Linked DNA regions of Homo sapiens: region 2 is linked to region 1. The links are contacts of gene promoters, found by promoter capture Hi-C in human tissues and cell types (Jung and others, 2019). All regions are on one chromosome and are shown on one strand. The core of a region is centred on a gene start or on the middle of the fragment in contact, and the rest is flanking DNA. Distances in the headings are between cores, read along the strand shown. Region 1 holds the start of INPP5D (inositol polyphosphate-5-phosphatase D). Region 2 overlaps GIGYF2 (GRB10 interacting GYF protein 2).

The links. Contacts are between HindIII fragments. The study calls those that stand out against the background at their distance.
Region 2: a contact is called between a fragment that was not itself captured here and the fragment with the promoter of INPP5D in region 1, in 3 of the 25 tissues and cell types used here (heart left ventricle, hippocampus and thymus).

What each region holds. Positions count from the first base shown.
Region 1 is chr2:233,056,371-233,063,695 of GRCh38, reverse strand. It overlaps INPP5D (inositol polyphosphate-5-phosphatase D), which reads right to left and starts at 3,354. Exons shown (of 27, transcript NM_001017915.3): 1 at 3,084-3,354. The coding sequence starts at 3,217. RefSeq lists enhancers at 314-423, 436-1,029, 1,030-1,623, 2,710-2,799, 3,400-3,679 and silencers at 1,000-1,049, 3,120-3,199. The HindIII fragment of the contact is 3,353 bases long and covers 492-3,844 here.
Region 2 is chr2:232,786,630-232,794,240 of GRCh38, reverse strand. GIGYF2 (GRB10 interacting GYF protein 2) reads right to left here. Exons shown (of 29, transcript NM_001103146.3): 9 at 6,912-7,091; 10 at 3,326-3,543; 11 at 3,071-3,233; 12 at 2,795-2,983. Among named protein-coding and RNA genes, the nearest start is that of KCNJ13, 14 kb to the right of the region's middle. The HindIII fragment of the contact is 4,915 bases long and covers 3,063-7,611 here.

The DNA.
Region 1 (7,325 bases), core at 2,105-4,604:
CCTGTCAAGCAGGGCTTTCCAAGCTGCTGAGGTGAGATCAAAGCTTTCCTGCCCAGTGGTAGGTGACGGGGCTGACCTCTCTCGAGGAAATGCAGGGTTTGCTGGGTGTGCGCAGAATGTGCACTCCTAAGTCACATGGGTGGCACTGAACTGTAGCCCTGTCTTTTGATGTCCAACCCCCGCTCAAGTCCATTTACATAGTCAAATCCTGTTCTCTTTCCTGAGCACAAAGGCCCCTCCCTGGTGAGGCTGCTCTCAGTTCCTGAGACTCCAGGCACACTTGCCCAAACCATCAGGTGGAGACTCCGGCCGTTGTCCCCTTGCCCACCAGAGGGGGCCTGGGAGGGAGTGCTGCTGGGGCCCAGGCAGGATGAGGTCAGGGCACCTGGGTGATCTGAGGGGCCATGGGGCAGGTATACTTTTCCCATGGACTTTGCTAGGGCAGGAGGGTGAGTGTGTGGCTTCCTTCTGCAGTCACTTCTAGAGCAGGGTGGCTCCAGGCTTCCAGGGCTAGGGGGGCAAAGCCTGCTACTTCTGCAGCCGCAGAAAACCCGGCTGCCCTGCACACCCCTCAGCCTGGGACTGTCTGCCTCTGCCGTCTCCGTCAGGCCACGGCGACTCTGCAGGGAACACAGAAAACTAAGGGTGGTAGGGTTTGTTTTTCAAGAAGTTCAATCTCTTTGCTTTAAATGACTGGCTTTTTTTTTTTTAATGCCCTTCCTGCCTCTTTTGGTGTCAAAGGCTGCTTTCTTTCAAGAAATGAGGTGTTGGAAGATGACAGTTTGTTATCATTCATTTAATTAGTTTTTAGTTTTAAAATCTCCGTAATTGGCAAAATCCAGGGTGGCAGCCATATGAAGCCTGCAGATGTATGGAAAGTCTGCAGGTCCATAGCAACCCACGGCCTACAGTGGAGCCTGACCCTGCAGGAAGGGAAGCTTCCCACCCTGAGCAGAGGAGAAAGGGAAACACTGAGCCCAGGGTTTGTCTGGCCAAGGGGTGGGACTCCTGGTGTTTGCAGCCCAGCAGCCTCAGGATAGGAGGCTGACGAGGCTTCGGCTGAGAGGATAGTGGACATCTGTAGGCACCACAGGTCCCTCTCTAAGGAGCAGACACTGCACACCCATCATGACTCTGAGAGAACTCAGTGCAGACAAGGGTTCAGAGAGAAGAGGTAGAGGAAGGAATACGAGAACTGGCCTGGATCCCAGCAGTTTTGACCCCAGCCAGCATGGTGGACAAAGGCCTCAGGCTCTCTGCCCTCTGTCTACCTCCTGAAAAGCCAGGGCTGTTGCACCAGAGCTTCTCCAAGGCCTCTCCAGCTCTGACTCTGGCTCAGGCTAATCCTAGACGTTAAGATGCTCACGGCTCGGAGTCAGAGAGACCCACGCCCCATGTCTGTAACCTGAGCAACCACAAAGCAAGCCCTGGTCAAAGGGCTGTGTTGAAGGTTAATGAGATGGGGCCCTGGAAGCCCTCGGCTCAGCCAACACCAAACAGCCAGGACAAGATCCCACTGGGCCAGGAGAGAAATCCAAGTAACCCACATGGGCCAGGTGGAGTCAGACTGGGCTTGTGAGAGGCCTAAGAGAATCTTCCTGCTCCTTCTAAGGCCCCGGCAGCAGCAGGTCCCCACTGGGGAAGTCCAGGCAGCCTGGGCCTGCGTTCCTTCCCCTGAGGCATGAGAGAGGGGACACAGGAAACCAGTCTTTGGAGGTGGGGCTGCAGACTGTCAGCACAGGCCAGCGACCAGCTGCGAGCCTGGCTTGGTTTCCAGTGCCCCAGCTGACCCTGTAAACACTGTGGCTCCCCTTGCTTCTTTCTCCAGCCCTGCAAGGCTACATGCCTGCCCCGCTGGACTGGGAGCAGGAGAGGTTGGGCCACAGGCTGCTGGTCTCAGCTGCAGCCTCTGGGGGCAGATGGCCGTGGCTTTGACTGTTGTCACTCACTTAACCTGCCAGGGCCTCAGATTTCTCATCTGCAAAGTGGGGCTTTTAACAGGACCTTCACTTTAGGTTGTGGTGAGGATGAAATGGGCTAACAAATGCTTAGCACGACAGGTCCCAGCTGTGAGTCAGTATTCAAAACAGGTCTGGGTTCATCACCCAATTCCCCTCCTGCCTGGAGAAGCACAAGGCCCTGGCTGCTCGGGGGAACATTTCTGCCAGCCCAGGGATGCTACTTGAGATGTTCAGGTGGACACACATTTCCCTGACTACACTCCGGCACTGCCTGAGGCCCCGGCAAAATGATTAGACCAAGAGCTGCAGGGCAAGGCCCCCCTATGATTAGACCGAGAGCTGCAGGGCAAGGGCCTCCTTCAGACGCTGGACAGGAAGGGGGTTTTAGAAAGGAACCTTCAGCAAGTGGCTGGTTCCTCCATTGTTAGCACAGCTGGTACATTCAGTAACATCCCCAACCGGGCAGTGGGAGGAGTTGATGGTGACAGAGACCCAAATTGAGGGGGTGGGGGGTGGGCAGCGGTCACAGCCAAGTGCTCAGGAGAGAGAAGAGGCTGCTCGCTGGTGGTAATGGTGACTTCCTCTGCTCTCAGGCCCCTGAAAGCAGCTTCTGACTGAATGGAAAGTCCTTTCTTGATTAAACTCACCCCATATTCTTGGCTCGCCAAACAACAGCTTCCTCCAGGGGCCCGAAGCCTGGGTGCTCCAGGAAGGGTCCCCCTTGCCACCTTTGCTCTTCTCAGGGTTTCTGAGCTGGGCATCTTTGAGCTGATCTCTAACACACCCACCTCCACAGAGCCCTGAGCTTCCTCCTGGCTCCAAAAGCCCAAACTCCCTTCTCTCGGTCCCCAGACTCCAAGGAAGCCACAAGGTCCATACAGCTCATGGGAAGCTGGGGTGTAACATCAGGCCTCAGAGTGGTTCTGACAGCTCCAAGGCTGCAAAACCTGCCATGAGACCAGCTCTCTGAACTCCAAGGACAAGGTCCATGACAGGGTGGCGGGGAAGTGTGCATGTCAGATCACTCTGTCCTGTGACATAAGAACAACCCATCTCAAAGCTGGGCCCCCTCTAAGCCCCTCTGTCATATCTGTGCCCGGGGAGGGAGCAGGTTGTACTCACAGCACGCAGAGCGCGTATGCCCGGGAGATGGACTCGCTGGCACGCACGAGGAAGCTCCCGTCCTTGCCTGTCCTGGAAAGCAGCTCCTCCGCCTTGGAGCGGGTGATGTTGCCATGGTTCCAGCAGGGGACCATGGTGGGCGTGGGCCTCCTCGGCCGGGCCGGCAGGCACCCCCAGGACCCACACACCACCGAGGGGAGCGGAGGCCCCTCCACTGCAACCTGCCGCCCGTTGCCTCTTGGTGGCCTCGGCTGCTGCCACCAGCTTAACTGACTGACTTCCTGTTTCAGGCGCTCAGTGAGGGAAAGGAAACTGAGCTGCGGAGAACTTCCTCATTACAGAAACCAAGCAAGAGAGAGAGAGAGAAAGAGAGAGAGGGGGGGGCCCTGGCCGTCCACCGTCCCCTACACCCTGCCACGGCTGCCGCGGCTCTCTTGCCAGCCCTCTCCTTCCTGGCAACTGGTCGCAGCGTACAATTGAAGTGTCCAGTGGCAGCTGAAGTCCCCCTGGGTGGAATGACCGGCTCTGGAGACGTCAGGAGAGTTGTGGCCACTTCTGAAGAAGCATGGCCTAGCAGGCATGGGTGGGCCAGAGAAGTGGTTCTTCTGCGGCCGTGCTGACACCCACGTGGGATGCCATGCCCTAGACAGGCCCCCGAGCCTTCTGCTCTCCCTCAGGGCTTTTCAGCACCCACCCTGAACCTCCAAAACACCCAAGGGGGCACAGCTTCTCAACTGGGACTACGGCCTGCCCAGGACAGAGCAAACTTGAGGGGGAGGGGACAGTCGAGCCCCACCCCTCCCCTTTAGAGACTCCCAGCGGCCTGGGTGCTGGGAGACCTTGGCTGCCACCAGCCGAGGGCGCCAAGGTCCAAGTGATGGCTCTGTGACCCCATTACCCTCATTCCCAGGGGCGGGTGGGTGCTGCACGGGCAGCACAGCTCTGATCCCTGCAGTCCAGCTTGGAGACACACAAAGGGAGCTTGGAGGGGATGTGGGCCGTTTACAGCGGGAACATAGGCTGGGTTTTTCCCTGGGCTTCTCCAGGATGCTGGGGAAACAAGCTCGGAGAGGAGAACCCCAAAGCCCCACAGGGCAGGCTGGCCGCCTGGCCAAGGACAACACTGGGTGCTGAGTCCTGCGTCTCAGCAGTCGGGGTGGCCGGTCGGACTGCACCGCCTCCAAGACTGGGCATGGCCACATATGCCCACCACTCAAAGAGGAGCTGCCTCTCCAGGGACCGCCATCCAGGACCAGTCATTTCTGAGGGCTCTGCGGTGGACACCCATCCCTCAGCCCCCAGACCTGGGCACCTTCCGTCCTTGGGTCCGGCCCACCAAGGCCGAAGGGGCACGTGTTGACCCGCTGCACAAAGAGTGCCCCCACCATCCCACATCCAGGCCTTGGCCTCCAGGACATGACAACAGACTCCCTCCAGGAAGGGGCACCAGCCAGGCAGCGCCACCACATTCAAGCTGTGGGAACCTGGTCAAGTTTCTTCTCTCTCTCGGCCTTGGTTTCTTCTTGTCTAACTTGAAGGACGTAGCTCGTAAAAGAGCTCACATGTGCCCAGGGGCTCAACATGTGTCACACTGATGGTTGTCCCAGAACAGGGCCCCCAGCACCTCCCCGCTGAGCAACACACATGGCAGGCGAGTCTGTAGGGCAGACAAAGCACTCCCAGTCAAGGACCTCTGGCCAGGCTGGGAGCCAGGCGTGGGGATAGAGTGGTGATGGGAACTGGCCTCCATGCTCCGGCCCTTCCGCAGCACGCCACCTCTGCAGCAGCCCAGTGTGGAGGCCTCTCATTCCCCACCCACGCCTCCACTCAGCACCTGTCCACCCCCTCCTTATGGGGTCATCTCCTATGCTCCCATTGTGTACCTTCACACCCTTCTCACTTCCCTGCTGGCCTCCACCAACATCCATGAAGTCCTGGACCACGCCACCAGGAGGATCCATTTGCAATACTGGTCCCTTTACACCTCCACCCACTCATCTCTAGAGACCCCTACCATGCCAAGACTGCCCTACTTAGAGAGCTTCCCCCAAACCCCCAGCCCCCCACCTCTCACACCTCTATTCCCACGGTCCTTGCCATTCCACAGAGTGAGATCCCCTGGCACACACGCCACACGGGCACTCTTCCCTCATTTTTAAGGCCCATCCCAACTTTGCTTCCTTTTCCACCCAATTGCCTGATCTATCCAGCATGGTCAGCTGGCTTGTCCCCCACCCTTCTGCCCTCCACATTCAGGAAATCCCAGTATCTAGATCAGAGCTGCCCTTTTGGTGGGTGGATTTTTTTTTTTTGTAGGTCTCCAGTCAATATAAATAATTTTAACGTATTACAAAATTCACAAACTCATGTGAGGGATAGTGATTTATCAATGAAGACTTCAAATAATGGCTAGAGAGTGGCCAGGCACAGTGGCTAACACCTGTAATCCCAGCACTTTGGGAGGCTGAGGGGAGTGGATCACCTGAGGTCAGGAGTTTGAGACCAGCCTGGCCAACATGGTGAAACCCTGTCTCTACTAAAAAAAAAAAAAAAAAAAATCAGGTGGGTGTGGTACGTGCCTATAATCGCAGCTACAGCTACTTTGGAGGCTGAGCAGGATAATCACTTGAACCCAGGAGGCGAAGATTGCAGTGAGTCGAGATCGTGCCACTGCACTCCAGCCTGGGTGATAGAGCGACACAGTAAAAAAAAAAAAAAATTACTGTTCCAAATTTTATAGCATAAAGGTAGAACCACACATCTTCCAGCCATATTCTCTTGAATGTGTTAGGCCATAATCACTGCATTCCTACCTTGAGATCCCATTTGATGATGATTGCACCCTGGCCCTCCACATACAAGAGCAGTCTCACTCTCCAGGGATGTCTGCCTGCATCTGGCTTGGCAGGATCAATGTGGAGAGCTCAGCATCACCACATGGATGGGAGGTGGGAGATGATGCTGATGGGAAGAGCCCGTGGGTGTATCGGTGCTGTGGAGCAATGTCCTCGAAAGACGTTGGAGGAGGCAGCTGCCTGATAGTGGACAGGAGCCTCCAGAAGGGATAAGGGACTGCCAGCTGCTGCTGGCAGGGGTGATGAGGGCCTAGACCACCTGCCACTATCCTTGCTGTCCTCAATGCTCGGGGCCACTCAAAGGAGAAACCTGCTCCCCAGGCTGTGCCCAGGAGTCACACCCAGCCATAGGGCCCCAGAGCGATTGCATAGTGTGAGTCTATGCATTCCTTGGAGCATCTGGTCAACCTCACCCATGGGGCAGAGGCTTGGAAAGCAGCTGAGGGGAAGAAGTGGGGTCAGACTCACTCATGTGATCCTGGGTCCAGACTGGGGCACCTGCCCAAAGGCACTGCCAGCCCTGGCAAGCCCCAGGCCCCATCAGGGGACTTGAACAATTTCTGGGAAAGCTGGGCAGTGAGAAGCATCAGGGTGGTCTGGCAGGCACCTGGTCATGGGCACTCAGCCAACTCTAGAAGCTCCGGGAAGAACAGACAGGCCTCAGTGTTGAAGAGGAGGGCTGACATGGCAGGGCCAAGGCATTGGAGCAATTCTGCTTTGGCAACCTTAAGTGAGGGCGGGTCACAGGAAGGTTTGAGTCTCAGGACAGGGTCAGGGCAGGCTGGGAGAGAGGGACAATGGAGACACCAAGCTTCTTGTCCAGGGGTCCTTCCACCGTGGACAAGAAACAGAAAGAATTTCAGGGTCTGAGAAGGGACTGAGCCAGGAGAGGGGAGGCAGAGGTCAATATATACTGTATATATATATGTGTGTGTGTGTGTGTATATATATATATATATATACACACATACACACACACATTACATCATATATATAGTGTGTATATATATACACACACATTATATATATATAATATATATTTACTATACAATGTTAACAGATATACAATATATCTAAGCATTTGTCTCTGTACTTCCCTTCCCCTCCTGTGTTCATCGAAGCCCTTTACTATGCCCCAGGGCTCCCACTCCCCCCAGCCTGGGTGGATAGATAGATATCACTCATGGCTTGGGGTGCAGGGGCTGAAAGTGTTCACTCACTGAGTGCTAAAAGCAAAGGGAGCAGTGATGGTTAATTTTATGTCAACTTGGCTGGGCCTCAGGACCCAGATATTTGGTCAACATTATTCTGGATGTCTCTCTGAAAGTATTTTTTAGATGACATGAACATTTAAATCAGTAGACTTTGAGTAAAGCAATTCCTGTGT
Region 2 (7,611 bases), core at 4,271-6,770, 270 kb after region 1:
GCAGGATGTTCTTCTCAATAGGAATACAAATTATAAAAGAGGTTCTGTCTTTGTTCCTATTTCTAACCTCTCAGTGTGCAGGTTCTTAAGAAGGAAAAGGGGGATGGAAGTAATTAGGTATAATCGCAGTTTCCCCTTTGAAATCTTGTTTGTTCAATTACAGATAGCTTCTCCAAATTCCTGCTCCTCTCACTGACTCATTCTTTGCCATACTTTTTAAAAGGATAGTCTATACATGCTGTCTCCACTTTACTCACACCTGCTATAAGGGGACTTCTACTCTCACCTTTCCAGTAAAGCTCCTCTCTCAAAGATAAGCAGTGACACAAAGTTGCCAAATACAATGACTTTTCCTAGTCTTCCTCATCCAATCTCTTAGTAGCATCTGACATTATCAACTCAATTCTAAGCTAAAACATCCCCATTCCTTAGTTTCCCTGCACTCTACTCTCCTGTCTCTACTTTTACCTCTGAGGATTTTTCTCTGGTTCCTCTTCTTCTACCCTTTAAAAATGGGAATTACTCAAAGTTCTTTTCTTCTTACCCCTACTAAGTATATGCAATCTTTTCAATTTTCATTCTCTCTCTAACCCTAAACTACTCCCATCTAGCTACAGTCCCTCATTCACAACTGCTCTCTCGCCATCTCCACTTAACTTCTTCTCGTCAACACCTCAGAACCAGTGTTCAAAACTGAATTTCTCTCTCCTCTCCCCAGTGTGCTCCTCTATGGTGAATGGCACCATAATCCTCTCAGGCTCTTTGGCTCTTCCCTCTTCTTTTCGTGTGAATGGCACCATAATCCTCTTATAATCCTCTTTGGCTCTTCCCTCTTCTTTACCCTGATATCCAGTCAATGACTGAGTCCTGACAGTTTCTACTTTAAAATCTCACCTGCCACAACTTCCCTTTACAGGTGTACTATCTACCCCATAGTGACTGCTCAGGAGTCTAAGCGGTCACAGTGAAGCCAAACTGTCATCACAAGATAGTCTATACCCTGCTGTCAAATCCATGTTCTAACTACGTTTCCCAATATCCTCCTTTTCACACTTCATATTTCATCAAATAAAAACAAGAGCTGATTTCCTGCCCAAGCCTGGATCAGTCCCACTTCTTCACTTTAGCTTTCACTGCTCCCTAGTACTGGAATGCCTTCTCCCAATTCATCTATCTACACTTACCTCCAAATTCTACTTATTATTCCAAGATGTGTTCAGAGACCACCTACTTCCTGAAGCATCCCAAGAGTCTGCCAACAGTGAACCCTTATCTTACTTTTTGCCCTAGAATAGTGATATATGCACACTTTATCTCCTCTACACACTATAAATCTGGAGTTTCGACCTTTAATGTACATCTATGAAGCCTTCTCAGAATATATATATCTAGACTTGATCCAAGAATTTCCTGAATAAGGCTTCAAGCACGTACATTCAAAAGAATGTACCACAAGTAGTTCTGGGGCATATCCTACTACAAATCAAACTGCCTCAAAGATATATCAGTCTCACAGTGCCTGCTATGTAGAGCACAGATTCAAATACTTGCTGAGCTAACCAGGAAGCTAAGGGCAGGAGGATCACTTGAGCCCAGGAGTTCGGATCCAGCCTGAACAACATAGTGAGGCCCTGTCTCATTTTTGTTGTTGTTTTGTTTTTAGAGACAGGGGTCTTGCTATTGCTATGTTGTCCACACTGTTCTCAAACTCCTGGGCTCAAGTGATCTCCCCCATTTCAGCTTCCCGAGTAGCTGGGATTACAAGCACGTGCCATCACACCCAGTTAATCCCATCTCTTTAAAAAAATAATCAGCTTTGTTCTAGACATTTAAAAAATTGAAAAATTCCTGGGTTTGAGCTCTCAAAATATTAGTCTACTGGGAAAACAAGGTAATAAACATCTTTATGATATTATAATGCTATGTTAGAAATAAGCCTGGTTGTTTAAGAAACGAAGAAGACACCTACCCTAGTTTGGGGGCTTTGGGTGGAAGAGAGTTTCAAGAACAGAGAAAAGGATGTGCTAAGGTACGAATCCTAGAAAACAGGAGACAGTTCAGGACCTAAAAGGCTTTGAGGCTGGTAAGTAGAACGTGAGGGAAGTAAAGAGGCTGGCAATGAAACTGCACAAAGGGAAGCAGATGCCAGATTGTGCAGTGTCTCATATGCCATGTTAAAGGGTATCAATTTTTATGGTAAATGAATCAAGTAACCCTTCAACGTCAGGCATTACAATGACATTTTTAAATACGTACAAGAAGAAACATGGAAATGAGCATTAATATTGCCTAATAAAGTGTATGAGCAACTTAAACCAATACACTAACAACTGAAAGAGATATGTTTTAAGCTTATTCTGCCACAGATTCACATATGTTCTCTACTTGTCCTCTTTTAGAAAAATGGCATTTTGGTGTGTCATCTGGTAATTTAAGCTGGGCACATAATTAGTCAACACATGAAAGGAAGGTAACTGTCTAATACGGGAATCAAACTAATGCAAAGGCTATGACACCCAGTTCACCAGTAATGACAGGGTGGCTATGTCATAACACCTTAGGACATGAGATTCCAGAGCTCCACCCTTGCAGATTCGAACTCTGTTTTGGTAATTCTGAGATGGACACATACGTGAGAAGCACTGTTTGACTGGGTTTACTGGTAAAATAATCTATTCCGATAATTCACCCACTAAAAGCAGTTCTAGGAGGCATAAGCAGAAGCCTAACTTATCAGTGATCACTGGCCTCAGCAGAATCCTATTTTAGCTTGTCTATTCCCACAAATACATACCATCCCCTCTGCTGGGCACTTTGGCTGGTAGACTATTTTCCATCCGAGTCTCCTCTTCAGCTTTTTCCGTTTGCTCAGTTTTTGGTTCATCTTTCCTCTCAAACTGTGATGCTTCCTGAGACTGATGGTCTGAAGGAGTACCTGGTCTAGCAGATGATGATGAGGTCTGGGGAGTTTCCTCACTAGCTTCTGGAACACGAAGTAATCTTAGTTGAACTTACGAAAGTTTTGGTTTGATGGAGGAAAAAAAAGGCAAAGGGCAAGAAGAGGCCTTACCAACTCCTACTCTATCTGTTTTCTCTCCTTCTTTCTTATTTGTCTTATCGGGTTCTTTGGCCTCTTCATTATGGCTACCCTCAGAGTCAGAGCACTCCTCCCCTTCGTCCACAGGCCGGAAGTCCATCTCCTGCTCTTCTGGAATAGGCTCTTTCTGTACTTTCTGTAGAAAGAGAATAAAACCAAAGATCAACAGCAGATTTGGCTTTGGTATAAGGTTAATGCTGGTCATGACATTTAAAACACGTTTCTTACTTTTAGAGAAAGGAATGCTCCAGATGAGTCAAATGTACCCATTTCTTCTTCAGCATCCTCTAAGCACCATTCGGGCAAGCTATCCCTGTCATCATCTATGCTCCCACTGCCAGAGCGAACCCTTCGGTAACCCCGTTCATCATCTCTATCTCGAAAATCAAACTCAAACCTCCGACGTCGTTCCATGTGTTCCCGCCAGCCTGCAGAACGAGGGCCATCTGAGATGAGAAGGAGGACACAAACCTTAGAAAAGTTTTATGACAGTATTTGAATAAGAAAATCAGGAATAGAAAATAAAGGAGAAAACTACAAGTGACCGCAAACTCAAATGGACTGACCTAGTAAAGAGAACATTAGGCAACTAAATGAAGTTCAGAGTTCAGAGTATATGTACCATTACGAGATGACAACAGTACTTAAGTACTGAGCCAGGCAACATACTCTAAAGCTTTAAAAGATAAATCTAAAATGCAGTACATTTAAAGGACACTGTATTCCAAGTACGCACTTTCAGTAAGTCCTAGGTACTTGATTAAAATACTGATTAGCCGCCAACTCCTCATCCAGACTTAATGCACTAGACATCCTTCCATACTGAAGTTTACACCTTCCTTTTGCCCAATCTTAAAGCATTTTCTTTCTTCCCATGAAAATATCATTGTTTGTGGATAAAATCAGCTCCCTGTGTTGACTTATATCAAACTCATCATGACTATTTATTAATGCCAGGTTCCCACTTGTAATTCTGATCCTCCCCCAAAAATTCACAAAATTACAGTGCTGAAAGTTGTCACAGAGATTTTATGAAGTTCACTATCCTAATTTTATAGTTTAAGAAGAAACTAAAACTTTGCCAGCAGAAGTAACTCGCACATGGCAAAGTAGAACTAAAATCCAATTCTGCACCCTCTGCTGCTTGTTCCACAATAACATACTTACTCCTCTCCCTTCTTTCTCATCTCTTAATTCTCCCTATCCATATAATACCCCTACGGACATTCCCAAATCTACATTTCCCAACAGAAGAAAAGATTGCCTAATAATAAGAGATCCTACTTAAGATATTTTTCTAAAAAAAAGAAAGGGAAACTCTTGCTAAAATCTGACAGACCTGAGTCTAAAAGAGTCTTAAAAAGAAAAGCAGGCTTTAACCTATTAGAATTTTCCATCCTTGACTGCTTTCTCTGTGGGGGATAAGAAAAAGAAATGTGGCCAGAGTTAAATGTTCTCACTATTGAGACAAACTTTGCAAAAACCAGCAATCTAAAAATCAAATTGGAAAACAAAGGGCAAAACGTTAAAATGCCAAATACAGGTAGCATCTGATAAGCCACTCACAAAAAAGAAATCTTAGTCCCACACTCCCATCCCTTCATATAAAAACAACAAAACACTATTTACTACTTCCTATGAGAACTAAGGAATTTTATACTCAGACTGCTTACGTGGAAACCTAGAGCCATTATGTGAAAAGAGTCTTCATGATCAAATGAATTCCAGAGCCCTCTGTACTGCTTTCATTTCTAACAGTCTAAATGTACATCATGACAGGAATCTATCCTTCTAGGTACCTGGCTCATGTTTCTCCTCTTACTGACTTTCCTAGGTTCAGCTCCCAGACTGGATGCCTCCCTGTCCTTAATGTTCCCACCCCCACGCACATCCAGCCGGAAGCCCTATTTTATATCCCATAATGTTATCTTATCAGTAGTTCATAAAATTTTACTCACGAAACTAAACATAGCAAGTAAGACATGCAAGGTACTTATTAAGGCTGACTGCTGATTTACAGACCCTACATCTAAACTAAAGTTGGATACTATTTTCATAAAATCAGTTAAAATAATTTAAAGTTTTACTCAAATCTTAATAAAAGATTAACCATAAACTAACAAACGTTAAGAGTTAACATATGAAAACTGCTATAATCAGGCTATACTTTGAATATACTGGGTTTAAAAAGTGAATCGTATTCTTTTTTAAAATGCATTTACACTGTTTTTTCAGACCCAAACTTTATATTTGGGGGATCTTTATATCCCCCAAACTGTCTTTTAAAAATATATGGATTTCAGCCACAGGTGTGACTGAAAAAATATATATGTATATGGATTAAAAGTTCTGGAAGATACACAAGTTGATGACAAAAATGATATGAAAGTCAAATATTAGGGGGAAAGAAAGATTCAGAAAAGATGAGAAGAAGATAATATATAACCAAATTCTAAGTTGTTGGGTGGGAGGTACTTTGTTAAACTCCCTTTAATAGAATCAACATCAGACATTTGGGCTCAAAAAACACAGTTCATCTTCCAAAACATTCACCTTGTTTGTTTTTGACCAGCTGGAATTTCTTTTCTCTCTCAGCCCAGATCCTATCCATTCTTCACTGAATGCTTGTTGGGAACATAGTCTACAAACCCTCTGCCTACGGACAAGCTCAGCATAAAATGCAGTGATGCCTTTTAGAGAACTATAACATCTGGCCCAGGTCACAGACTAATGAAAATTGTCTAGACCTTGTGATGTAAACAATGCCCACTAATGACAGAAAACCCACCCAAGAGGCAGCCATGAAGAGTTGGTATAAAACCATCCTAACTCTACCCAAACATTAACTTCAGTATGTTTCTATCTACCTACCACTTCCTTAAAATACTCTGAATGCCTGTTATAATGTCTACCCAGATCTAAGCTAGTGGTTTTGCTAATAACTTGATTTTTAAAAGTGAAAACAGTTTACTTATCATAATTTCCTGTATTAAAGGTAAGCCCCTCTGGCACATGGTTGATAAAATACTGTCATACACATGAAATTCATAGGGCATTCCACATATACTCTGTGTGCTTCAGTTTTGCATGACCCCACAATTGGAACTACAGTTGCATCTGATTATCATGAGGCATGGAATCAGCACTGTGGTACAGGATGAACTTTAACACAAAGCACTAGTGTCTTCAATTACTAGCATATCTAATGTCCAAGAAGAACAGTTTGAGCATTTTTAAGAGACAAACAGAAGAACTTTAAAAGCCACTAATCACTACTATTGTCTCTCCTTCTTCTAAAGTTAGAAGGACATAAGAATGAACTTGTGATTATGTTTCTGACCTAGGTTTAAAGCTTATTCTTCAAATAAGGTTAAATCACATTTTCAAAAGGGAAAAAATGAAAGAATAAACCCTTTCTTGTTAGGAAAAACACTCATTGTTGGGGAGGGAAGCACATATTTCAAGTGTGTAATTTTTACACATTTATAAATCTTAAAGAATGCTAAAAAAGATTCAGAGATTTAGAGGTAGACAAAACTGAATGAAACCCTCATTTCTGCAGTTGAGCGCAGGTGCTTCCCATTAAACTACACTATTTGCCCCAGAAAAATAGAAAAGTGATTTCAATCAACTGAATAGATGTAGGAAATTTTTATGTTGCAATTTTTTCTAGTAATAAAACTGTGACAGCATAAATAATATGAATCCACCCCCACATTTTTTAAGCCAGTTTATCTTTTTCATTTAATCCCTATTTCCATCAAACTTTCCCTTATTTCAGTCCCTGTGTGCCTTTACTCAACAGAATTCTTACCAGGACTGTGAGGTCGCCACCTCTCTCCATCCCTCCTTGATCCAGCTAGTCGCCAACCTCCATCTTCATCTTCTCCATTTTGTTCCTCTCTAAAGATGCGCCAATTTTCACTTTCTGAGCGTATAAATTCATGCTTTCTCCCTACTGATGTTGGTCCACCTTCCTCAAAATTTGGTCTCCCTATAAAGAAAATAATATGGTAAGTAAACATGAGCCTCTGCCAGTATAGGCTTTGAAAACAAACTTCACAGCTCAAATCAAGCTTTCCTGCAAATGGGTCCATTTCAATATTCAGAAAAAAATCACTAAAATAACAGTGGGTATATGTATATATTATTAGACACATTTCTTAAAGCCATGTTCAGAGACTGGGCAATTTTTTTAAACAAAAATATTATGTAAAATTTTTTTTGAAAAAGCGTACAATGAAAAGTCCATCTTCCTACACAAGACCCTCAGAGTCGTACTCCCCAGAAGGAACCATCACCAAGTTTCTTATAAAGTCTTTCCAAACACTGTCCATGGGTACACTTACACATGTATACATAGCTCCCTCATCCACACACACAAACGCCACCCTCAGGATGTTATAAATGTTGTTTTGTTTGCTGTTTTCACTAACAGTGTATCTTGCCAATCCTTCCTTACTAGCACATACTTTTTAAAGTTATAAGATATTTTTCATCATACAACATACTTT